Regions from separate parts of the Homo sapiens genome. Here regions 2 and 3 are each linked to region 1. Evidence: promoter capture Hi-C in 16 types of primary human blood cells and fetal thymus (Javierre and others, 2016). All regions are on one chromosome and are shown on one strand. The core of a region is centred on a gene start or on the middle of the fragment in contact, and the rest is flanking DNA. Distances in the headings are between cores, read along the strand shown. Region 1 holds the start of CALHM3 (calcium homeostasis modulator 3). Region 2 holds the start of NEURL1-AS1 (NEURL1 antisense RNA 1). Region 3 overlaps PDCD11 (programmed cell death 11).

Region 1 (2,745 bases), core at 107-2,606:
TCTCTGGCTCCTTATTTTCCCCCAAGGCTAGCCATAGAAACTAGAATCCATCTTCCCCAAGGTGGGTCATAGAAACCAGAACTCCTTTTCTCCAAAGCTGCCACCATAAAACCTAAAAATATGATTCTAATTTCCCCCCGCCTTTCTGTCTGAAAACTGGCCGTAAAGAAATGATCTGACCTACCTAGTTTCATTGTAGATCATAAGACTCCCTTCTAGAGAGGGTCCTGCCCCGTGTCTGGGAGAAAGGAACACTGTATAGAGAGGCCAAGAAGAACCTAGATGGCCTTGCTGAGTTTCCCCACTCCGTCTATAACATCAGTTCATCCCTTTTTTAATCCAATTCTATTTCTGCGTGGCTATCCAAACCTTGTTGAACCTAAGCATAAAAATGAACCATTTCCTCTGTATCTTTAGGTCTTTATTCTGAAGGTTCTGTGGCACATAAAACGGTAATCAAATAAATTTGTATGCCTTTTCTCTTATTAATCTGCCTTTTGTCAGTTGATTTTCAGCAGAGCTTCAGAGGGCAAAGAGGAAGTTTTCCCGCAGCCCCTAGAGTGGCCTGGGTAATTGGGAATCCTGTGTCATTCCTATGTTTACAGCACTGGCCACGGAAAGGTGACAAACGATAGGAACAGAAATATGTTTCCAGAGTGGAAACTGGCAAGTGGCTCTCTGTGAGCCGATAATTCCTAGTTGGGGAAAGGAGAGGGCGCACCTGGCAGTACCTGTAGGGTGGGTGGAGAATCCCCTGATAATGAGAATGGTTGGGGTCTGGGGGTGCACTTGACAGTGCCTGTGGGGTGGCTGGGGAGCCCCTGGCAAAGCTCATGGGTCACTGAGTGGTGTGGGACCGCACCTGATGATGCCTGGGTCCTTCCTCCGGTGCCCTGCGGGCCGGCGCCACTCCTCGACCATCACCACAGACTGCCGGTTGGCGAGGAGGCCGCAGAGAAACAGGGCGAGCGGGGGCGTCAGCAGCAGGCCCAGGCCGTAGAGTGCATTGTAGTGCACCAGGCAGGGACAGTTGAAGTCAAAGGAGGAGTACAGCTTGACGGTGACCGCAGCCAGCAGCAGGCAGATGCCATTCATCACCGACTCCGAGCTTGACTGGAAGTGCTGGAAGAGCATGCGGAATTTATCCATGGCTCCAGCCTGGGTGGGTGGGCGGCCGTCGGTTCGGCTCAGTGAGGCTCTGGCCACCTTCCTGGTGTCTGCTGTGCTGGGGACGAGCCTGGGATCTGCAAGAGGTTCTCTCTCTGCTTCCAAGGGCCTGAGGGGCCAAGGAGGAAGCAGTGCCCAGGCCCCAGCCCAGGCTCCCGGGATCCAGTAGGCACTTAAGGCAGGGACAGGCTCTCACCACAAAGGCTCCCCTGCCCAGCCCAATGGTCCCCTGGTGCCACTCCCCTCCTGTCTGGGGGAGTGAGTCACCCTCTGTGACCGGGCAGCCCAAAGCACCTCTAGGCAAATGGGCCCCGCCCTGTCACTCCATTCCTCCCGGCCCATTTCTCTTTGCTTTACGGTCTGGATGCTCAGGCTTGACAGCCGTTGGAGCTTCCTTCGGGGGACAGGCAAATTCTGGGTGTGGTGAGGAAAAGATGCTGATGGAGCCAAGGTAGTATATTTTCTGGTCTTGATCAAAAGCATGACTCTGAACTTGTCTCACAGGCATAGTAAAACAACAGCAACAACAACAACAAAATATGACGACTCAGCTCAGCCCAGGGAGATTTCATGTTGGCTTTCAGGCTAGGAGGAGCCAGAAGGGGCACCTATTCCTGACCGAAGGCTTCCTGGAAGAGGAGACCCTTGAGAGGAGTCTTCAACGATGTTTCAGCATTTGCCATGAAAGGGGTAGCGGAAGGGGATGGCCTCCCTGGGCGACGTGCTAAACATTGTGCATTAACCACTGGGTGCCCATGGGAGAGGCTGCTCAAGTGCCACGCCCACACCTGCATGGCTTTCCCCCTGCCCTTCTTCCGTGTGAGGGGCATGCGTTTGAAATCACTGCTTCTTCTCCTAACTCTCCCACATCACTAGGTCTCTCCTTGTGTCTCAGTTCCAGTCTCTCCGAAGGATGACAGCCCAGATGTTTGAGGGACCCCTGAAACCTGCAAAACGAATTTTGTAAAGGTCACTTGGCCCATATTGTAAGTCAGATCATCCCAAATAAGTCTTGCAAATTTCGTAACCATCTGTGTGGTCTGTACTTCTGATGAAGACAGACAGAAACCTGGGTCTTACTTATTATTATTATTATTATGAGATAGAGTCTTGTTCTGTCACCCAGGCTGGAGTGCAGTGGCACGATCTTGGTTCACTGCAGCCTCTGCCTCCCGGGTTCAAGTGATTCTCCTGCCTCAGCTTCCAAGTAGCTGGGATTACAGGCACCCACCACCACGCCCAGCTAATTTTTGTATTTTTAGTAGAGACAGGGGTTTTGCCATGTTGGTCAGGCCGGTCTCGAACTCCTGACCTCAGGTGATTTGGCCCCCTTGGCCTTCCAAAGTGCTGGGATTACAGGCATGAGCCACTGAGCCTGGCCACTTAGTATTTTTATTTTCCATATTTGTACGTTACTCTAGGTCCTATGAGACAGATTTCCCTGTGTGAGGGAAATGAGGCACTGGAGAAGATGGGGAGAGCCACCAGTGGCCCTGTGAGTCTGACTCTGAGCGGAGGAGAGGGCGGGGCAGGGGTGAGAAACCCTTCAAGCCAGGAGGACCACCACAACTTCAGGTG
Region 2 (2,720 bases), core at 154-2,653, 38 kb after region 1:
GCAACATTGCAAAACACCATTTCTACAAAAATATAAAAAATTAGCCGAGTGTGGTGGTGTGCGCCTGTAGTCCCAGCTACTTGGGAGGCTGAGGTGGGAGGATCATTTGAGCCTGGGAGGTGAAGGTTGCAGTGAGCTGAGACTGCACGACTGCACTCCAGCCTGGGTGATAGAGTGAGACCCCATCTCAAAAAAAAAAAAAAAAAGAAAAGAAAAAAATAAAAGGTTGTGTTTGGCAGCACTGATAACTGAATGATGCAGGCGGTGAGAGTGAGGGAATAATCCAAGATTATTCCTGGTGCCAGGTTTTCAGGTGACTGGGAGAATGGTGATCCCATCAGGACCCCAAGCAGAAGGCGGGGGTTGGAGGGAAAGATGATAGGTTGAGTTTTGGCCAGGGTGTGTCAGAAGAGCCCTGAGATATCCTGGGGGAGACGCTGGGTTGGCAACTCCATGTGTGAGCTTGAATCTCAGAAGAGAGATCAGGGCCACAATGAGTTGTCAGCAGTGGGTGTCACTTAAACCATGAGAGTGGTTGAAATATCACAGGGTGGACAGAATGAAACCATGAAGAAGGTGTGGGAGAGGTACAAGGAGAATCAGGAAAGGTCAGAGGGCCAGAGAGGCCAAGGGAGCAGAGTTTAGAGGTATGATATGGCACAGTGCAGTGGTTCTCTAAGGGCCTACGAATTGCCTGGAGAGCTTGGAAAAATGTAGATTCCTCCTCAGGGGACCTGGAATAACCAGTACGATTCTGGAAGAAAGAAAAACCTGGAGGACTTACACTTCCTGATTTATTTACTTTCCTTTCTCCTTTCTCCTTTCTTCCTTCCTCCCTCCCTCCCTCCCTCTCTTCCTTCCTTCCTTCCTTCTTTGGAAGAAAAACCTGGAATACTTACACTTCCTGATTTATTTCCTTTCCTTTTCCTCCCTCCCTCCCTTCCTTTCTTCCTTCCTTCCCTCCATCCTTCCTCCCTCCCTCCCTCCCTTTTCTTTTTTCTTTTTTGAGACAGGGTCCTACTCTGTCACCCAGGCTGGAGTACAGTGGCGTGATCTCGTCTTACTGCAGCCTCCACCTCCTGGGCTCAAGGGATCCTCCCACCTCAGCCTCCTGAGTAGCTGGGACTACCAGCATGTGCTACCACGCTCAGTTGATTTTTAAACTTTTTGTAGAGATGAGGTCTCACTATATTGCTGAGGCTGGTCTTGAACTCCTAGGCTCAAGCGATCCTCCTGCCTTGGCCTCCCAAAGTGTTGGGATTACAGGTGTGAGTCACCATTGTGTGACCTGCCCTATACCATTACTCACCTTCTTCAAACTTCTAATAATAAACAAGAAATACCTACTGTTTAATGACCTCCTACTGTGTACCAGGCCCTGAGCCCCAAGACCCACAGCTCTGACCTCATTTACTCAACACAATGGCTTTGTGAGCTAGGAGCTAGGTGGGTCAGCCTGAGGGGCTGGTTTCCGTAGTGAGTCCTCTCCTGCCCACATCTGGCCTTTGCCTGAGCTGGCCCCAAATTTCATCTCCTCTGTGTCTCCTCTGAGTTGATAGGACTGGAAGCCCCTGGCTGTCTGTAATCAAGTCCACAAAGGTTCATGAGTCAAATCAGAAGTCAATGTACTGTTTCCCAAAGAGAAATTTTCTGTCAGATGGACTTCCTGGCACCTTCTCCCCTGCAGCAGCTCTTTGAGTGCTGGGTGAACTTGCTCTAGGCCTGGCAAGTTGAGAACACAGTCTGAGAGTTCAATGCCTATGGGCTCTGAGCCTTGCCCAGGCCACTTCACCAACAGGGAAATGCCTGCCAGGAGGACCCAACACTTGGGCCTGGCAGGCCACCATCTCCCTGGCTCTGCTCCCGTGGGCCTCACCGCAGTGTGCCTCAGTGACATCCCCTTTTCACCGATCTTTGGCATCCAATGAACACATCTTTTCTTCACCTCCAGCCAGGTATCCTTTATGTCTCTTGAGGGTAACTTTGCATGCCCTGATCCATGAACAGTCAATTTCCTAGACTGAAATTTGGGAAAGCTTATTGCCAAGAGCCATGGACTGGGAGTACCTTATTTTGCCCCTTTCTCCACTTACTGCCCACACAGTTTCAGGAAGGAAGCAGTGGGTTAAGTAAATGATGACGTCTATTCACAGGAATACCTTGCAGCTTTACACATTAATGAGGTACCATGATTTAAAAAAAAAGTCTACTATATTATTAAAAGAGCAAATTGTGTAATATGTATAGTATGGGCCTGTTTGCATTTAGAGTGCTACATTTTTCCTTCCCCCTCTTCCTCTCCCTTCCCTTCCCTCCCTCTCTCTCCCTCTTTTCTTTCATTCCTTTCTTTCAACCAGTATTTAGTCAATGCCTACTGTGTGCCAGGCACTGTTCTAAGTACTAGGATACAGCAGGGAACAAGTCCTCTGTCTCATGGAATTATATTCTTATGAAGAGAGACAGATTTTTAAAACCCAAAAACATGACATATGGATGTCAGATGATGAAAAATGCCCTGGAGAGAAAGAAACCATGAGTGAGGCAGATACAGGGATTATGAGTTGGGGGGTCTGGGGAACAGCACTTTGAATAGGTTGGGCCAGAGAAGACCTGATGGCATTTGCAGGAGGTGAGGGAGTGAGCAGTGCAGGTATCTTGGGGAACAACTCTATTCTGTGGTTCCATACCTTGATATCTACCTGTGCATCTAGTTATCACTC
Region 3 (2,702 bases), core at 170-2,669, 45 kb before region 1:
CTTGCTGTTGTAGTTATTTGCACACTGATTTGACTTACTGCTTGTAGGCTGTAATCTCCTTGAAGGCAGGCTCTGGCTTTTATTTATCATTATGATGCCATGTGCATAGTAGCTGCTCGATAAATGATTTGTTAAGTTGACTAGAAAATTGGAGTATGTATTTACGGCCAGGTGTGGTGGTTCACGCCTGTAATCCCAGCACTTTGGGAGGCCGAGGTGGGCAGATCACTTCAGGTCAGGAGTTTGAGACCAGCCTGGCCAACATGGTGAAACCCCATCTCTACTAAAAATACAAAAATTTAGCCGGGCCTGGGGCGTGCGCGCCTGTAATCCCAGCTACCCTGGAGGCTGAGGCAGGAGAATCACTGGAACCCAGGAGGTGGAGATTGCAGTGAGCCGAGATTGCCGCCACACACTCCAGCCTAGGAGACAGAGCGAGACTCTGTCTCAAAAAAAAAGGAGAAAATTGGAGTGCATATTTAGGGCAAGACACTGCATAAACAGTGAAGGATCCAAATCCAAATTGGTTTAGAAATTAAAAATTGGCCTCTGGAGATGGTTAACAATCGCTGGGCACAGCTGAGCTTGGAGGAGGCTACAGAGGTCTGTGGGATTGGTTCTCCAGTTTGAGGACATCTCTGGAGTCTCTTTTGCCTCCTGGTCAGCTGAGACCCTGGAAGAGATGCACATTCTGCTAGGCTAGCAAAGGTTCTGAGCTGGAGTCTGAGGGAAGCTGGTGAGAAGTGGAGGTTGGGCAAGGGCAGTGGGATGGAAGGGTGGATTCCTGTCTCTTGGAAAAGTGTACTGGGGCCCTTTCCACCTTGTGGTTTTAGGAAAGTTTTAATGGCGGGAAACCTTGTATTTGTATTTGCCCTACTCTGGTTCCTTTTTTTCCCTCAGTACAATGTGGTGAAGAAATGGCTTGAGGTGGAGATTGCCCCAGACATCCGGGGGAGAATTCCCTTATTGCTCACTTCTCTGAGCTTCAAGGTCAGTGTGCTTGAGATCCCTGGAGAGGGGACCCAAGTTCCCTAAGCTTGGCCCAGTGCCTGGTGTGTGGGTTTACAGTGGATTTGAGGAAGCTTGTTCTTTATTTAAGGGTTGCTTTGGGAGATACTTGCTTTGGAGACTTAAATGCTGTGGTTTTGGATAAATGACAGCCTTTCTTCAAGCATCACAGGAGTTTTTTTATCCTTCCAGGTTCTGAAGCATCCAGATAAGAAGTTCCGGGTTGGCCAGGCCCTGAGGGCCACCGTTGTTGGCCCAGATTCCTCCAAGACCCTCTTATGTCTGTCCCTCACAGGTGTGGGGATGAAACAGTGCCTGGTCGGGGAAGGGGAGCGGCAGGAAGGGGTGGGATGGGTTTTCAGCTATTGCTTGAGTTGGAGGACCCCTTCGGTATTGGAATCCTCAGAAAGCCTGGTGTGGGACCTTCTTGGAACAGTTTTTCTCTTGGGCTTTGCTCTGGCCCAGTTACTCCACTGCTCTCTGAGTTACCTTTACCTATACAGGTTACCCTTACCTACACAGGTGTTTTTCTCAAGTCCCTGGGAAAGAGTTGTCCACCACTTGGCCCTGAGGTCCTTGGCTACATGGCAGGGTGATCTCAGTCTAGATGGTTCTGGATCACTCAGCCCAGATACCCCAAGTCTGGGCAGCCTCCACCTTCCCCAGCCTGTGTGTGGCTGGCATTCCCGCTCCTCCCTTAGCTCATTTCCTCTTCCCTGAATCAGGTTGGTTCTTCCACCAGGTCCTCACAAGCTTGAGGAAGGGGAAGTGGCCATGGGCCGAGTGGTGAAGGTGACTCCCAACGAGGGGCTGACCGTCTCCTTCCCCTTTGGGAAGATAGGAACAGTCAGTATATTTCACATGAGTGACTCCTACTCCGAGACGCCCCTGGAAGACTTCGTCCCCCAGAAGGTTGTCAGGTAAGCGAAGTGTTCTTCCTCTTTTCACCTGTCTGTGGAATTGGTATATTTAAAAAAAAACGTTGTTGTAATACATGACTTTTTATCAGAAAAACAGGTATATGAAATAGAAAATGAAAATTTCTGTAACCCCTCTGTTTCTCTACCACTTTTTGCCATTATGTACTTTGATTTCTATCTTTCTAGACTTTAATGCATATATATATAGTTTTTCTTTATATAAATAATAGAATATCATTTGATATACTGTTTTTTTCTCATAGTTTATCATGAATTTTTTTCCTTTTCTATGCTAATATATCAAAATCTATTTTGTCCTTTTACCTTATTTTAAAACGTTTGTTTAGTATTCTGGGGTTTTTTTAATTGAAATTTGTGTAACCAATTCTCTGTTGATAGACAATACTTTTTTTGATAGACAATAATGTTGAAGTATCTTTGTACATATATTTGGGTTTTTTGTTTTTTTTTAATTGAGACAGAGTCTGGCTGGAGTGCAGTGGCGTGAGACAGAGTCTGGAGTGCAGTGGCGCGAGACACAGCCTTTTTTTAACTGAGGCAGTCTGGCTGGAGTGCAGTGCGTAGGCTGGAGTGCAGTGGCGCGATCTCAGCTCACTGCAGTCTCCTCCCAAGTTCAAGCAATTCTCCTGCCTCAGCCTCCCAAGTAGCTAGGATTATAGGCATGCGCCATGACGCCTGGCTAATTTTTGTACTTTTAGTAGAGACTAGGTTTCGCCATGTCGGTCAGGTTGGTCTCGAACTCCTGACCTCAGG

What was found. The method cuts DNA at HindIII sites, captures the fragments that hold promoters and counts their contacts. A CHiCAGO score of 5 or more calls a contact.
Region 2: the fragment with the promoter of NEURL1-AS1 here is called in contact with the fragment with the promoter of CALHM3 in region 1 in 2 of 17 cell types (neutrophils and erythroblasts); the score reaches 8.5 in neutrophils.
Region 3: a contact is called between a fragment that was not itself captured here and the fragment with the promoter of CALHM3 in region 1, in 1 of 17 cell types (M1 macrophages). The highest score is 5.9, in M1 macrophages.

The regions. Positions count from the first base shown.
Region 1 is chr10:103,477,884-103,480,628 of GRCh38, forward strand. CALHM3 (calcium homeostasis modulator 3) reads right to left here and starts at 1,357. Exons shown (of 3, transcript NM_001129742.2): 1 at 863-1,357. The coding sequence starts at 1,149. NEURL1-AS1 (NEURL1 antisense RNA 1) reads right to left here. Exons shown (of 4, transcript NR_120675.1): 4 at 1,720-2,114. The HindIII fragment of the contact is 14,732 bases long and covers 1-2,745 here.
Region 2 is chr10:103,516,039-103,518,758 of GRCh38, forward strand. NEURL1-AS1 (NEURL1 antisense RNA 1) reads right to left here and starts at 1,404. Exons shown (of 4, transcript NR_120675.1): 1 at 1,348-1,404. The region is part of intron 1 of NEURL1 (neuralized E3 ubiquitin protein ligase 1); the gene reads left to right. The HindIII fragment of the contact is 6,397 bases long and covers 1-2,034 here.
Region 3 is chr10:103,433,048-103,435,749 of GRCh38, forward strand. PDCD11 (programmed cell death 11) reads left to right here. Exons shown (of 36, transcript NM_014976.2): 23 at 901-990; 24 at 1,201-1,303; 25 at 1,751-1,928. Among named protein-coding and RNA genes, the nearest start is that of CALHM2, 18 kb to the right of the region's middle. The HindIII fragment of the contact is 679 bases long and covers 1,081-1,759 here.